Linked DNA regions of Homo sapiens: all the other regions are linked to region 1. Evidence: promoter capture Hi-C in human tissues and cell types (Jung and others, 2019). All regions are on one chromosome and are shown on one strand. Each heading gives the region's core, a stretch centred on a gene start or on the middle of the fragment in contact. The rest is flanking DNA. Distances are from core to core; before and after follow the strand shown.

Region 1 (4,526 bases), core at 446-2,945:
TTGAGAAGTCAACCATAACGCAGCCTGTACATTTTACATCACTTGAGACATTTTTCTTTCCTTCTTGCCACAGCCAAGAAGTGAATTTTATCTGTCATGATTATAAGCAGAAAGTTGACAGATTTCAGAACACTAAGCAGGAAGTTTGGCACCTGAAATATTTTCCTTCAGACCAAGGGGGCATGGAATTGGTTGTTGGAAGGAGAAGGATTTGGATGAGATCACAAAAACTAAAGCTCCTGGTTCTTTGAATGATGCTCTCCCAGGAATCTGGGTGGAAAGAAGCCAAGGCTCAAATTCTTTGTCTTTTCAGCAATGAATAGGAAAAATTCAACTTTTGAGTGTTATCTCAGCAGTTACTTTCACTCAGTTTTGCCCCTTCGGCCCTAAAATGAATGAGACGTTTTCAAAGCAGATGGCAGTGAGTCAAGCAGAAACGTGGAATATAAGTACATCCCCACTTCCACGAAGTCCCGAAGCTTGATTACAGCACTCTCATGGGCCATGTAAACAGGGGACCAGAAACTGAGCAGAAGACAGATTTAAGCCGGGGCGGGGGGCGGGGGGGAGGGAATTGTAAGACTAGGACAGGGTGAGCGCCACATGTGGCTTTAATATCCAACAGCTGCTAGAGATCATCACCCCGCTGCTCTCTCTGTACCCCTACACCAGAATCCTCTGTCTCAAAGACCATAACTAAAGCGGCCACTGCCATGTTATCTGAGTAACGAACTCAAGCTCGAGCACATTCAAGGATTTTTTTTAACTTAGTGTACCTGGATGTAGCCGACTGGACCTTTAATCACAAAACCAAAGCTTTAAAACAAAGTCTCCAGGAAAGAACAAGAAGGAAAATCAATTACACAGTGCACTTGAGCAGACTGGGGAGGCGGGTAAAAGAAAAGTGAGGGAAGATAGGGCAGCCGGGATTCCCTGGACTGGAGCTCTCTTCTCTAGAGCTAACTTTTCAGACCTGGAGGTCTCCAAGGCCCCCGCAACTCAGTGAGTCTCGGGGCACCAACAAATCCCCGCGGGGGTCACCGCGCCCGCGAACGCAGAGTCCACACGTGGATTCCCGCGCCTGTGATGCCCCGACCCGTCCCGGGTCCCCGCACAGACAATGCCGCGCGTCCTTCCCGCAGCCACTCCGGGACCCGCGCCCCGCGCCGCCCGGACGTCCCCCTGCGTCTGCCGGGGACACTCACCGACACCAGGAACTCCAGCGTGCCCACATAGTCCCGCTCGGTCTTCTGGAGCTCGCTGAGCACGCACACGCGCAGGCGAAGCTGCTTCTCCAGGTCCTTGGCGCTCTCGGCGCGGCTGTCTCCGCGGCTGTCCTCGCTCATGGTCGGCGGCGGTGCGCAGCGCGGCGCTGCCCGCCGTGCTGAGCGCTGACCCGCGCGCCCGCTGCTGCCCGGCCCCCGGCGGCGAGAATGGAAAGTTGCCGCCTCCGCCAACTCCGAGGAGAGACAGAAGACTTTACATGCTGGGGAGAGGCTGGGCGCAGGGAGAGGAGGGGATCGGGCTGAAATCCCGGCGCGGGGGGCGCGGGGCTCTGCAGAGGAAACTCCTGGGAGTGGGGGCTCCGGCCAGGCCCTGCGCGCCCGGCCCCGCTGCTCTGGCCTCACACGGCCGGGGCTGGAGGGGAAGCGGCTTCGGCAGCCACAGCAGTGACTTGGACATTAATCAAAAGCTTTGTATCCATGTGACTCCGACCCTTTACCCTTCGCCAAATCTCAGGAAAAAGGAAACACAACCCTGGGGAAGTACTGCGTACTGGCTAATCACACACACGCGCGCGCGCGCACACACACACACACACGCACACACACACACACACACACACACAGCAGCACTTGATATGGAACTCACAGGAGGTTCCCAATCCCAGGGACACACACTCCAAGGCGCAGCTCGAGGGTTACTCCTAAGCCTCCGCTATTGTTTAACTTTAATGTGTTTCGTACAAATCCTGAAAGCAAAGAAACAAGTCCCCACGGTTACATAACTGGATGGGAACAAAAACAACCACGGTATTGACCCTCCCTCTTTGAAAAGAAACACATTGATTTTTTGTTTCATTCAGGCACAAAACAGGTTTGCTTTTAAAACCCTCCAACTGAGAATAGTTCACAGGGCAGACACCCTCCAGTCTGAGCTTGGAAAGTCAATTAGCATAATAAATGAAGACACTATGGGAAAATGACAGCCTCTGCCCATGCAATAAACCCCAGATAAAATAAGCATCACCCTTGTACTGTGCTGTTTTCCATGTCTACAACTTTTTTCAACATCAAGATAGTATGTAAATCCATTGAGAGGCGAGGGTATTTGTGCCAGTTTTGTTTCTAAGAGCTGCTGTGATTTAAGACGGTGTCACTAATTGAAAAGATAAAGCTGTTGTTGAATGCTCATCAGAAGATAGAAAGCTAGATAGATAACGGAAATAATCTTAGATTTTTGAAGATAGACACACAGAACATTCTTGATTTTAAAGTTAAAGTTTATTGCCTTTTCTCACTTGGAAACTAAGCCTTAAATATTTCCAATACATTTAACAAACAAAACAATTTATATATTTTTTTGAATTGGTATTATACACATATATTTTCCACAGATCAACTTCAGTCTAAAACTAATGGCATTTAAATAAACTGAAGAGTGAATAGAGTTGTTGCAAGAAAGTGGTATGTTAATTTGTTGCAGTCACTGAAAGCATTAGCAAAACTCTAAAACATAAAGATGCTTTTCACTATATTTACATTAAAATAATTACCTATTGGTTTTCCAGATGATGTCTTTCCAGAGCATAGTGTGACCATTCCCCTCTGTAACCACACAAAGAAGGATTGTACTTTCTTTGTATATTAAAGATAAAATTTTCGAATGATGTACACAAAGCTGATGGGCAAGATGTGATTTTCCTCTTTCTTTTACAAATGACTATTTAGAGGTAGCCAAGAGCAAAGGGCAAACAACATAGATGGCTTCACACCCTGTGGCAGAAGAACAAAGGGCAAAGCATATTAAAGAGCAGACCTCACAGCACCTAGTAAACAATAAACAAAAGAAGCGGAAGACATAGGAAGCACACATCCAGAAATGAATGGGAAATGCAAGCATGACTGAACCTTCTCCCCATGTACTACAGGCAGCATTTCTTCCTCCCCAGGTCTGCACCTTTCCCTAGGGAAAAAAGCAAATAAATAAAGCAACTTTCTATCAGTTGTTCTCCTACATAAAATAGAATCTCTTGTACTAATTGTCCCCAGTAAAGAACTGCTTATGCAACTTCCTTCTATCAAAAAATTAGTCTATGGACAATCCGTTAGGGCTGCAAGCTCATCTCTGAAAGCAGGACACTTGAGTTTGAATCATTAATGGGGTTTTACCCATCCAAATCATTTACCTCAATTCCACAAACATGCACTGAGGATCTCTACGAGCAGTGCATACTGCGAAGGCCCAAGAGCCACAGAGACCCTGATCTGCAGACACATATTTCTCAAGGTGGCTCACAGACCATTGAATTACAATCACCCGAGGTCTTGTTAAAATGAACATTGCTGGACCCCACCACAAATTTGTTGAATGAGAATCCCACAGATATCTGCCCTAAATTCTCTTACCAAGGTCCTCAGATTGTTCTTAAACTCACTAACGTTTGAGAACCACCATCTAAAGACTTACAGTTGAGTCAGGAAGAGGGTCAAAGTGACATGTAACTGTTTAAAAGGTAAGATGCAATGAATGCTTTGCAAAAAAAAAAATTGGTGTGATGGAAGCTAGCAGAAAAATATTCATTTTTAACTGTGTAAATTCAAATTTCTCTCAGAAATGCTTGTGTAGAAATTCTTAAGATATTTAAAGTTTCTGAACACACTTCTACCCCTTGGTCTACTCCTCAATATCATTTATAATTAATGAACAACTTCAGGACACCATGTAGTGCTTTCTGCCAGCCAGCTCTCAATGTCTTCTATTGTGCTGGCTAGAGTTCTTAATTCCTCATCAAAGACATAAGAGCATAAGAAAACAGGGCTGGAGTATCTGGAAACCTTCACTTTGATGGTAAATAAGGTCTTTCATAAACTCTGAATGTGCTGTATCCCTCCCCACTTCCTCTATTGAAACTTTAGGCCCTGTCTGCCAGGAAAAGGAAAGCAACAACCAAAATGATGGACAGGATCCAGTTTTTTTCCTCAAATACTAATGAGGTTGAAGCATCCAGTGAAAAGGAGATGGGAGAAAAGAAAATAGAGGGGAGACTAAGTAGGAAACTAGCTCAGCCATTGAATGTATTCCATATGCATGAACTTGGTGTGGTTAGAATCCATTATCATATGGGAGGTTAAGGCTGGAGAATCACTTGTGCCCAGGACATCAAGGCCACAGTGAGCTATGATCACACCACTGCACTCTAGCCTGGGTGACAGAGCAAGACCTTGTCTCCAAAGAGAAAATAATAATAATTTGTTATCATAAGGTTCAAAGAGTCAAAGCACAGGGCACAGTAAGCTTCCTTT
Region 2 (4,472 bases), core at 588-3,087, 33 kb before region 1:
TCATGATCCACCCACCTCAGTCTCCCGAAGTGCTAGGATTACAGCTGTGAGCCACCATCCCTGGCCAGTGATGTTCTTTTTTAAAACATCTTTAAGTTTGGTTTTCGTGAATTCCAAATTGCAACACAAGACATTATCTCTATTAGTACTGACAAGAGCCAAAAAGAGTCCTAGAGATCACTTGAAGCTCTTGGCCTTACTGTTACTCTCTGCCCCAGGTTGTTGGCACTGTGTTCTTCAACTCCATAAGGTTCTCGAAAGAAAGGCACCATGCTGGGTGCCAGCAACTCATAATCAAGCCCCTGCCATTAGAAGTTCACTATATGATAGAAGTGATACACATGTAAATCTATGACTTAAACCCAATGAGATAAATCTCCATGAAAGTATTACAGAGGACTCAGAGGCCAATCCAGCTAAGATGTCTACATGTAGCAAGCAAGCACGTCATTTGCACGTAGACAAGCCACCTGTAGTCAAGCCACCTGCAGACAGGATGCCTGTAGACAGGATGCCTGCATGGATGGAGCAGCCCTACGCTCCCGGCATGCCCAGGCAATGTAGTGTACTGGCCAAGAGCAGGAACTCCATCACAAGACTTCTTCAGTTCAAATCCAAGCTCTGCTACTTCCGAGCTGGGTGATTCTGGGAATTTCTCTAATTTCTCTGTACCTGAGTTCCCCATCTATAAGAGTGCCTACTCTCTGGGATTACGGTGGAGATTAAAAGAATTTATATACACACACTGTGCCTTGTACATAAAATCATTTTCATCAATATAACCTGGTTATCCCAAAAGAGATAGTAGAAAGGCATATTAATTTTTCCCCCATTTTTCCTGTCTCCAACCAAAAGAAAGATTACGAAAACCAACTTTTCTCTCAAAACGCTTTTGCCAGTCAAGTGAAATTAACCTTGAACTTCCATCTCCCAAGTGACAGCTGGCCTGAGATCTTTCTACAACTATGTGTGGCTTCCTATTCATAAAGTTTCCTTAAAGCTTCAATTAGATCTGTGTTCCCTGCTAGAAACCACATGGTCTGATAATAGAATTAAAGGGACACCACTCTGGATAGCTCTGGTGGGGAACACAGGTCGCTTGCATGGATGGAGCAGCCCCATCGCCCACAGGGAAACAGTTGCCCCTAGGACCAGCCAAGCCCAATGGCCTGCCCAACATCACCCTGAAACTGTCCTCTGCAACTGTGTTTGGCCATGCAGGGAAGAGTATCCTTCTTAGTTCCCTTACAGCCTACTGTACTCAGCGGCCCTCCTGGGGAGTCTCTGCCTCTGAGTTCAGGATTCACCAGCTGCCCTACTTAACAATGAGAGCTTGGTGTCCCAGAAGAAATGATCATTTTCCTATCTCCGACAATAAGAAAAATTAAGTGCACGGTAAATCATCACACTCACAGCTCTAATATTGACATTTAGACCAAAGAGAACTACCTTTTCCATATTTCATTAGGTTTTTAAAAAGAAAACTTGGGTAAAATCCACTGCAACTATATTAGCATCAATGTTAAGTATAATCTAAAAACTGCTTGTGTTAAAATTAAGACAAATATGGTCATTGAAATTAAATATTATATTATATCAAAAAAATTATAAGAAACAATCCTTAGAGAAAAATCAAATTTCCCACGAAGCTACTACTTTACCAAAAGCATCCCCTTTATTCTCATCCCTCTAAACTGAAATCTGTTAATTAGGTTGGCAGCAAAGCCTACCAAATGCTGATGAGTATTCACGATGCTATTGTGTTTGGCTTTCAAAACAAGTCATGGTTAGGAAATCAACATAGGAAGCATACTTCAAACATCCAAAAGCGTTTTTCTCTGCCTAGCAACTGGCAAGAACTTGGTATGTTTTCTCTGCTTCTATGTCATGTTGCTCTGGTCACTGGAACAACGTAGTCGCTACAAAAGGCAAGAAAAAAAAAAAAAACTTGTGTACTTAAGCACAGCCCAAAGTCCTAACAGGGACCCGTGCGACTGGGCTGGGTGCCTGGGCTGGCTTCCTTGCCAAGGAAAGGGGAGGTGGTGAGGCCCCCTCTCCCTCTCCGTCCTGGTTTCCTCCTCACCCCACATCGCAGCTAGGACCTTCAGCATTTCCTCTTCTGGGAAGGCTGGGAATTGGCTGTTTTTATGAAATGAACATGACCCAGAAAAGCATTCAGCATGATCAGCTTGTGCATTCGAGAGTCCTCAGCTGTACTTCCCATCATGAAGTGTTTGAGCTCCTGTTTATTAAAGCACAGCTGGAACCGGCAGACCTGCAGTCTTCCAGGCTAACAGTAACAGATCTTTGGCACTGAATTGCCACAAGTCCTGGCTTGCATTTCTACCTAGGAAGTTGAAGAAATTCCTTTCTTATAAACTACCAGAAGTAGTTAAATAAATGAACAACTCACAGTAATTATTTTCCTTAATCAGGCATGTACTAATCAAACCACAGACACATACATACACATGCATGTATGTATGCACATCACCATGACACTGCGATAACATACTCTGGATTTCATGCCTAAAACATTAAGTGATAAAGTGCTTTCCTGTTCAATTCAAAAAGCACAGTTCAACAATTATTTATTGAATACTATGTGCCAGGCACTGAGCTAGCTTCTAAGAAATCAATGTTGAATAAATCATACTCTTCGTTCTTAATGAGTTCATGATCCAGTAGGGGACACGGATGTGTATATGAATACTTGCATGAAAGTGTGCTGCACAAATATTTATTTTCAAGGTTCAGAAGTAGAAGAGAAGATGGAGTGATCAGTTCTTTCTGAAGGTGGAAAGGGTGATGTGGAAAAGCTTTACTAAGAAGCTGACACCTTAGAACGATTCTAAAGAATGGACAGAAATTCAAGTTGGGGAGGAAATGCGGGGAACACTCAACATAGGGAGAATAGCAGGATCAGAGGCATGAGAATACAAATTCCCAGAGCAGTACCAAGCACGGCATTAGATTGATGTGCACTACTATGTGCCAGGCACTGTCCTACACTCTTTACAGGTATCACCTCAATCTTCACAGCAACCCTATGATGCTGGGACCAATATCATCCCCATCTTACAGATGTGAAAATGGAAGGAGACAGAGATTAAGAACTTCTAGGATCACACAGCTTTGATCCCAGCCATGTGGACCCAGAGCTCACGAAGAGCTCACAACCCTAATCACTACTAAGGAAGCACTCAATAATAACAATAGCTAATGGAGAATCAAAGAGTGGTCAATAAATGAAGAAAACTAAACACTCAATTCTGGAGCAAAAATTTCATGAAGTCTGGCAGAAGGAAGAGGGCAGGAAGAGGATACTGCTGGAAATTTGGGATCCTGGAGGCCCTCATGGGCAGCTTAACTGCTTGGAACTTGCCCTGTGGCCATTGTGGGTGACTGAACTATATAGGAAGTTCACTATCATGGCACAGTTGGGAACTTATCTGAGTCAAGAATGAATGGAGGCAGGAACCTCAATTAGGAGGCTATTCTGATAACTCAGGTGAGAATCTTAGCATAAAAACTAAGTAACAGGAGGATGGAGAGATGAAGGAAATGAAAAAGTGCTTACATATTCGAACATCACTCAGCCAGCACAGCTGGGCAATGCAGGGAACAACCTGCATCTGCAGGTCTCTTTTCATGAATGCCTTGTGGGGCAGGGCCAAGGTAAAACATAGTTTGTTTCTTTCACCATTGATCCATCATCATCAGTATGCAGATACCAAACAAAGGTTCAAAATCTGTTTTCATCACAGTAATGTTGGCTTTTGAGGAAGCACACAAACTTAAAATTTTAGAAATTAGCATATCTGCTTAAAAAAATACCACCACCACTATGGCCCATATAAAGTAAATGTTCTGCCAATGTCTTTCAATATTGTGTAAAGGAATCAGGAAAAAGAGATAAAAACTAAAGCTTAACAATGTGGTTCAACTAAATCAAATAAAGATTTGAGGACCTGCATACCGAAATTGAGGTATTCCAAGACATACCACAAAGAAGATGCTAAAGGCCATGCCAGAATGAGCATGAGGTCTATTGGAGAGGGTCAGACAATTGAACAAGTAAATATAATGTTAAGGCGGGAAATCATTAATGTCATAGACAAGTCAGAATATTCTATGACAGTTTAAAAGAAACTGTAATCCCATTCCATCTTGAGGGTCAGAAAAATTTTATAAAGTAGGCAGCATTTTAGATTGGCTTTGAGAGGCTGTATGCATAAAGAAGGAAATATAAAGGCAAAATACTATCAGCTGTTCTTATACATAAAAATACATCTATGCAAGTGATCAGCAGCTCTCATTAGGCTCTCTACCAAATTCCCAAATGAAATACATATATTTTTTAAATATTTTACCCATAAACAATGACAATTCTAATACATGTCAATGTATCTTTTATTAGTGATCAAATTCCCTCCCATCCCTTACTACCTGAGGGGGAATCCAGGTATTAC
Region 3 (4,647 bases), core at 547-3,046, 57 kb before region 1:
CTCTTTCCTGAATGGTCAGGGATACACCAAACCCTAGGGAGAAATCAGTTTCAAAAAGAACGAAGATTAGGAAATGTATGATGTTTATAGTGGGCTGTTTGGAAGCCTTCAAAATTAACCCACCACCTTCCTCCCCTACACACCTAGAAATACGCACTCAAACACATACAGATACAGGATGTCTCCTCAGGGTGGAGTTCAGCTCTGTGGTGAGCATTTATGAGAGGCCAGCTGCTTTTAAGTCTCAGTTTCCTCACCCATTAAATCAGGTTAATAATCATATGTGCCTCACAGAGAGGTGGAGAAGATTACATGCAGGTAATGAAAGCCCTTTGCAAAGTGCTAGCACACAAATAAGGCCCAGTAAATGTTATCTGATATTTCTGCCACTGCGCCTATTATCACTATCCACTATTACTACATCCACAGCCTAGTCCCATTACTTCTACTGTGGTTATGATTATTATTAACACTAGAGAGAACAGAACTAAAGGGTAAGTTAAGGGCCCTTTCTCCTCCTCTCTGCTCCTATATTAACAGTAAATCAATCCAACAGACTCTACTTTCTGGAGAAGTCCTTGATATCAGAACAAGTATTATAATTCAAGGTATCGAGGCAAAAATTCTGTTTATTTTTTAACTATTGGATCTTCCACAATGTAGTGGATCTTTTCTGCTCAGGATCCCAGGCTAGCTCCCAGTTGTTTGGTATACATGTCAATCTCTCTAATCATACATTTATCTTCCACCCATTGCAGAAATTTGGAGATTCACAAAGAGTAGAAGATAGAAAAAGTTTATTGAGGATCAAACTCTAAGGTGCTAATAGGGATTGTTGTCTATGTCCTCAATCCTTGAAACAACTTAGAGCACGAGGTATTAATAAAAATGGAACAATGCAAGTGAAGTTTGGTCAGACCACAGCTTTAATTTCAATGAGATGTCACAAGATCAGGGCATGGACCAGAAGCACACAGGCTGGAAGTAAAATGACAGGCTGATCTGACAAGACCTCTACAGAAAAGCCAGGTTCAGAAAAGAAGACTGTTCCTTTGGAAGCTGCCTTCTTCTAGGTGCTACCAACTCTTTACAGCACCAATGGAACACTTAAACAAAAACAATTCATAAGACTAGTTTATAAAATTTAAATTAAAATGTATTTATGTATCATAAGTCATTATATTTGTAAACAAACTTAATGTCAGATGGAAATAAACTTTTAATGAGGTTCAGAATTACAACAAAGAAAGACATTTCAAATATCCCACCATTTTTCTGGTATCATTTCATATAAAAGTATGTTTCATGGTGTCAGCTGGTGAAAAACACGAAATAAAACGGATTTCTAAATGCAGTTCAGAAGCTTACATGAATATATTTGTCAACTTTTTTCTTAATGTCTCTATTAAATTGCCTTATTTTTAATATTATACAAATACTTATATAGAGATGCCAGTAGACTATTATGTCTCCCACATAATAATACTTCATATTGTGCTGGTCAGGAATTTACGTTGATATCAGATCACTTGAACAACACAGCACAATGAAAGAAAAGGGTAAGTGGGAAGTACAAAGTACATTGTATAGATAATATTCTCAAGCACATATTTTTCTCTGGCACAGGAAACTGGTCATTTCCCGAATTTAAAGTGCAGAACACTATTCCTGTTTTAGTCGTTATTCAAGAATGCAGTTCCGATGAAAAGGAAATGTAAGCAGTGTAGAAGGAAACGTATTTAGTGCTGGAAAACCCAGAGAAATGAATGAAGATCCCAACCTGAAGATCTGTCGCTGCCCGACGGCTACTCCCCTCCTTCATCTCATACTCTGATCTAACTCACTGTGCAATCCATGAGGTATAAAAGAAAGATTTATAAATTGGTTTCATATTTATTTCAATTAACATGAACTTGTTTTATTCTTTAAACACATTTATTTTGCATGTCAGTCCGTTTTCATACTGCTATAAAGACATACCGGAGAAAAGGTAATTTACAAAGAAAAATAGGTTTAATGGATTCACAGTTCCACACAGCTGGGGAGGGCTCACAATCATGGCAGAAGGCGAAGGAGAAGCAAAGACACATCTTACATGGCAGCAGGCAAGACAGCATGTGCAGGGGAATTCCCCTTTATAAAACCATCAGATCTCATGAGATTTATTCACTATCACAAAAACAGTACAGAAAAGACATGCCCCCATGATTCTATCACCTCTCACCAGGTCCCTCCCATAACACATGGGGATTATGTGAGCTACAATTCAAGATGAGGTTTGGGTGGGGACACAGCCAAACCATATTAACTTGTCTCCAACTTTTATACCTCAGAAACGTAGGCACTTACTTTACCTTTTCTTTAAAACTGACTTCTAAAATTGTCCACCATCATCCTTAAAACACACATGACTTAAAATACATGTCAGTATCCTATGGCCCTTTCTGACTCACCATATTCTCTCCTTCTCTCATGACCAAATATTGTCTTTACCCTCTTCATTCAACATATCACCCCTTCCTTAGTCTGCAATTTGTTTCCTTTCCTTTTCCATTTGACTCATACTCTATTCCTAAAGGGAATTCGTATAAAGTAACTAAAACGGTTAGTGCTGGGCTGATACGGACAAGTATTAATATATCAGTGGCACAGAAACAGTCCAGAAAATATCCTGAGTATTTAGAATTTACTATTTGAAACAGGTGGCACTTCAAATCAGTGGGGAAAGAATGCCAGGTTTTGGGACAACAGGCAGTCCAGTTTCTAGTCTTTACCAAAATATGACAGAAGTCAGCAACATGAAGTGGTGAACAGCTTTCTGGAGCCACTCTGCCTGGATTTGAAACCCAACTCTGCCAACTACTAGATGTGTGACCATACAAGTAACTTTACCTCTCTGAGGCAGAGCTTCCATATTTGTAAGATAAGAGTAATATGGTATCTACTCCTATAGACTTGCTATAAGCATTAAACAAATTAATATATGTGAAGTAACTGAGGGCCGGGCGCGGTGGCTCATGCCTGTAATCCCAGCACTTTGGGAGGCCGAGGTGGGCGGATCATGAGGTCAGGAGATCGAGACCATCTTGGCTAACACAGTGAAACCCCGTCTCTACTAAAAATACAAAAAATGAGCCAGGCGTGGTGGCGGGCACCTGTAGTCCCAGCTACTCAGGAGGCTGAGGCAGGAGAATGGTATGAACCTAGGAGGCGGAGCTTGCAGTGAGCCAAGATGGCGCCACTGCACTCCAGCCTGGGCGACAAAGCGAGACTCCGTCTCAAAAATAAAAAAAAAGTAACTGGTACATCGAGTGTCAATGTCTACGTTTGCTGTTATTACTATTTTTTCTATTTCTTATAACCAAATATACTTCTTCAATGCTGTTTTCATTAAATAACAGCAAAACTTCTGAAGGAAGACCTTCAAAAAGGAGAACCATTCTATTTTACATCACCCACATAGCAAGCTATATCAATGACAATAACCAACTAGGAGGAACAAGTATTGCATATGTATAAATATGTAAAACATTTTTGAACTGCTTTTAAGTCATTCATGACTTTTTATTTATAATTTACTTTGTAAAAATCTGTGTAAGTGGTCAAATATCTGAAAGCATTTTCTTACAAATTCAAGAAATATGAGAAAAACTAAATAAGCTCAACTGTGAAAACCTAGGATAACAATTATTATCAATAATCCTTTTATGTTTCAAAAATCAAGAAAAAATAAAATATGAAATATCATAAATACTTCTACATACTTCACGAATCAAATAGCTGCCAACAAAATGCTCCTAATGAGTTCATTTCTATGGATATTGGCTTGCAGCTCCATCGACAGCTGAATATTCATGAGGCAAATTAGCTGCAAATAAACAAGGAAACTTTCCTTCCACAGGACAAAGAAAAGCTATGATAATTAAAAAATATTTTAAGAAGTTTTTTTCTGACCTGGGTTATGAAAATTAACCATCAAAAAAATATAGTGTCTGTCTATATAGCTTTGTCTATGAGTTTTGTTACATAACCACAAAGATGCATATTTGTTCAACTACTGCAAAATCCCAAATATCCCCTAACATCAATAGTTTTCTTGTTTCACGGGATCTGAATAACCTTAGGTCCTCAAGAACCAACATTTTGGGGATGTAAATGAAACTGTCCTAGGCTGGGTGTGATAATTAATCTGGTTTAGGGCAATTATTTGCAGAGCTTAAAGCTTGAACGTGCACATAATATGTAAAAGGTCATGGTAAATTGAAATCTGAACTAGGTCCAATATTGGGGGGTGTAGTCTGGAGGCCCCAAGTGGCTCAGCAAGTAGACTCCAGGCAACAGTGACAGGATTCACTCTAGGGAGATGACATATAGTAGCTGATCACTGGTCTAAAGGTGACCCTGACGGATGCTGCTTGAGGTGGAGTAGGAATAAAAATGGTTGTGAAGAAAGGTTAGCATCTAATAGGATATAACTGACTTCTTCCAAATGCAGTGGGATTTAGGTTTCAGCCCCAGGCCTAATAAAAAATGGAATAAAAATCAAGACTGAGGATAGAATCTAATTGTATAGAGTGGATGTACACTGTTGAGACAGGTTATACTGCATCTCAGCGGGGAAACTGGTGCCTCCCTTCATCCCAGGAT

What was found. The method cuts DNA at HindIII sites, captures the fragments that hold promoters and counts their contacts. A contact is called where the count stands out against the background at its distance.
Region 2: a fragment that was not itself captured here is called in contact with the fragment with the promoter of PREX2 in region 1 in 1 of the 25 tissues and cell types used here (heart left ventricle).
Region 3: a fragment that was not itself captured here is called in contact with the fragment with the promoter of PREX2 in region 1 in 1 of the 25 tissues and cell types used here (H1 embryonic stem cells).

Annotation. Positions count from the first base shown.
Region 1 is chr8:67,949,215-67,953,740 of GRCh38, reverse strand. PREX2 (phosphatidylinositol-3,4,5-trisphosphate dependent Rac exchange factor 2) reads right to left here and starts at 1,695. Exons shown (of 40, transcript NM_024870.4): 1 at 1,206-1,695. The coding sequence starts at 1,346. The HindIII fragment of the contact is 2,458 bases long and covers 649-3,106 here.
Region 2 is chr8:67,982,478-67,986,949 of GRCh38, reverse strand. All of the region lies in intron 1 of PREX2 (phosphatidylinositol-3,4,5-trisphosphate dependent Rac exchange factor 2), which reads right to left. Among named protein-coding and RNA genes, the nearest start is that of PREX2, 33 kb to the right of the region's middle. The HindIII fragment of the contact is 3,074 bases long and covers 301-3,374 here.
Region 3 is chr8:68,006,261-68,010,907 of GRCh38, reverse strand. The region is part of intron 1 of PREX2 (phosphatidylinositol-3,4,5-trisphosphate dependent Rac exchange factor 2); the gene reads right to left. Among named protein-coding and RNA genes, the nearest start is that of PREX2, 57 kb to the right of the region's middle. The HindIII fragment of the contact is 6,929 bases long and covers 1-4,647 here.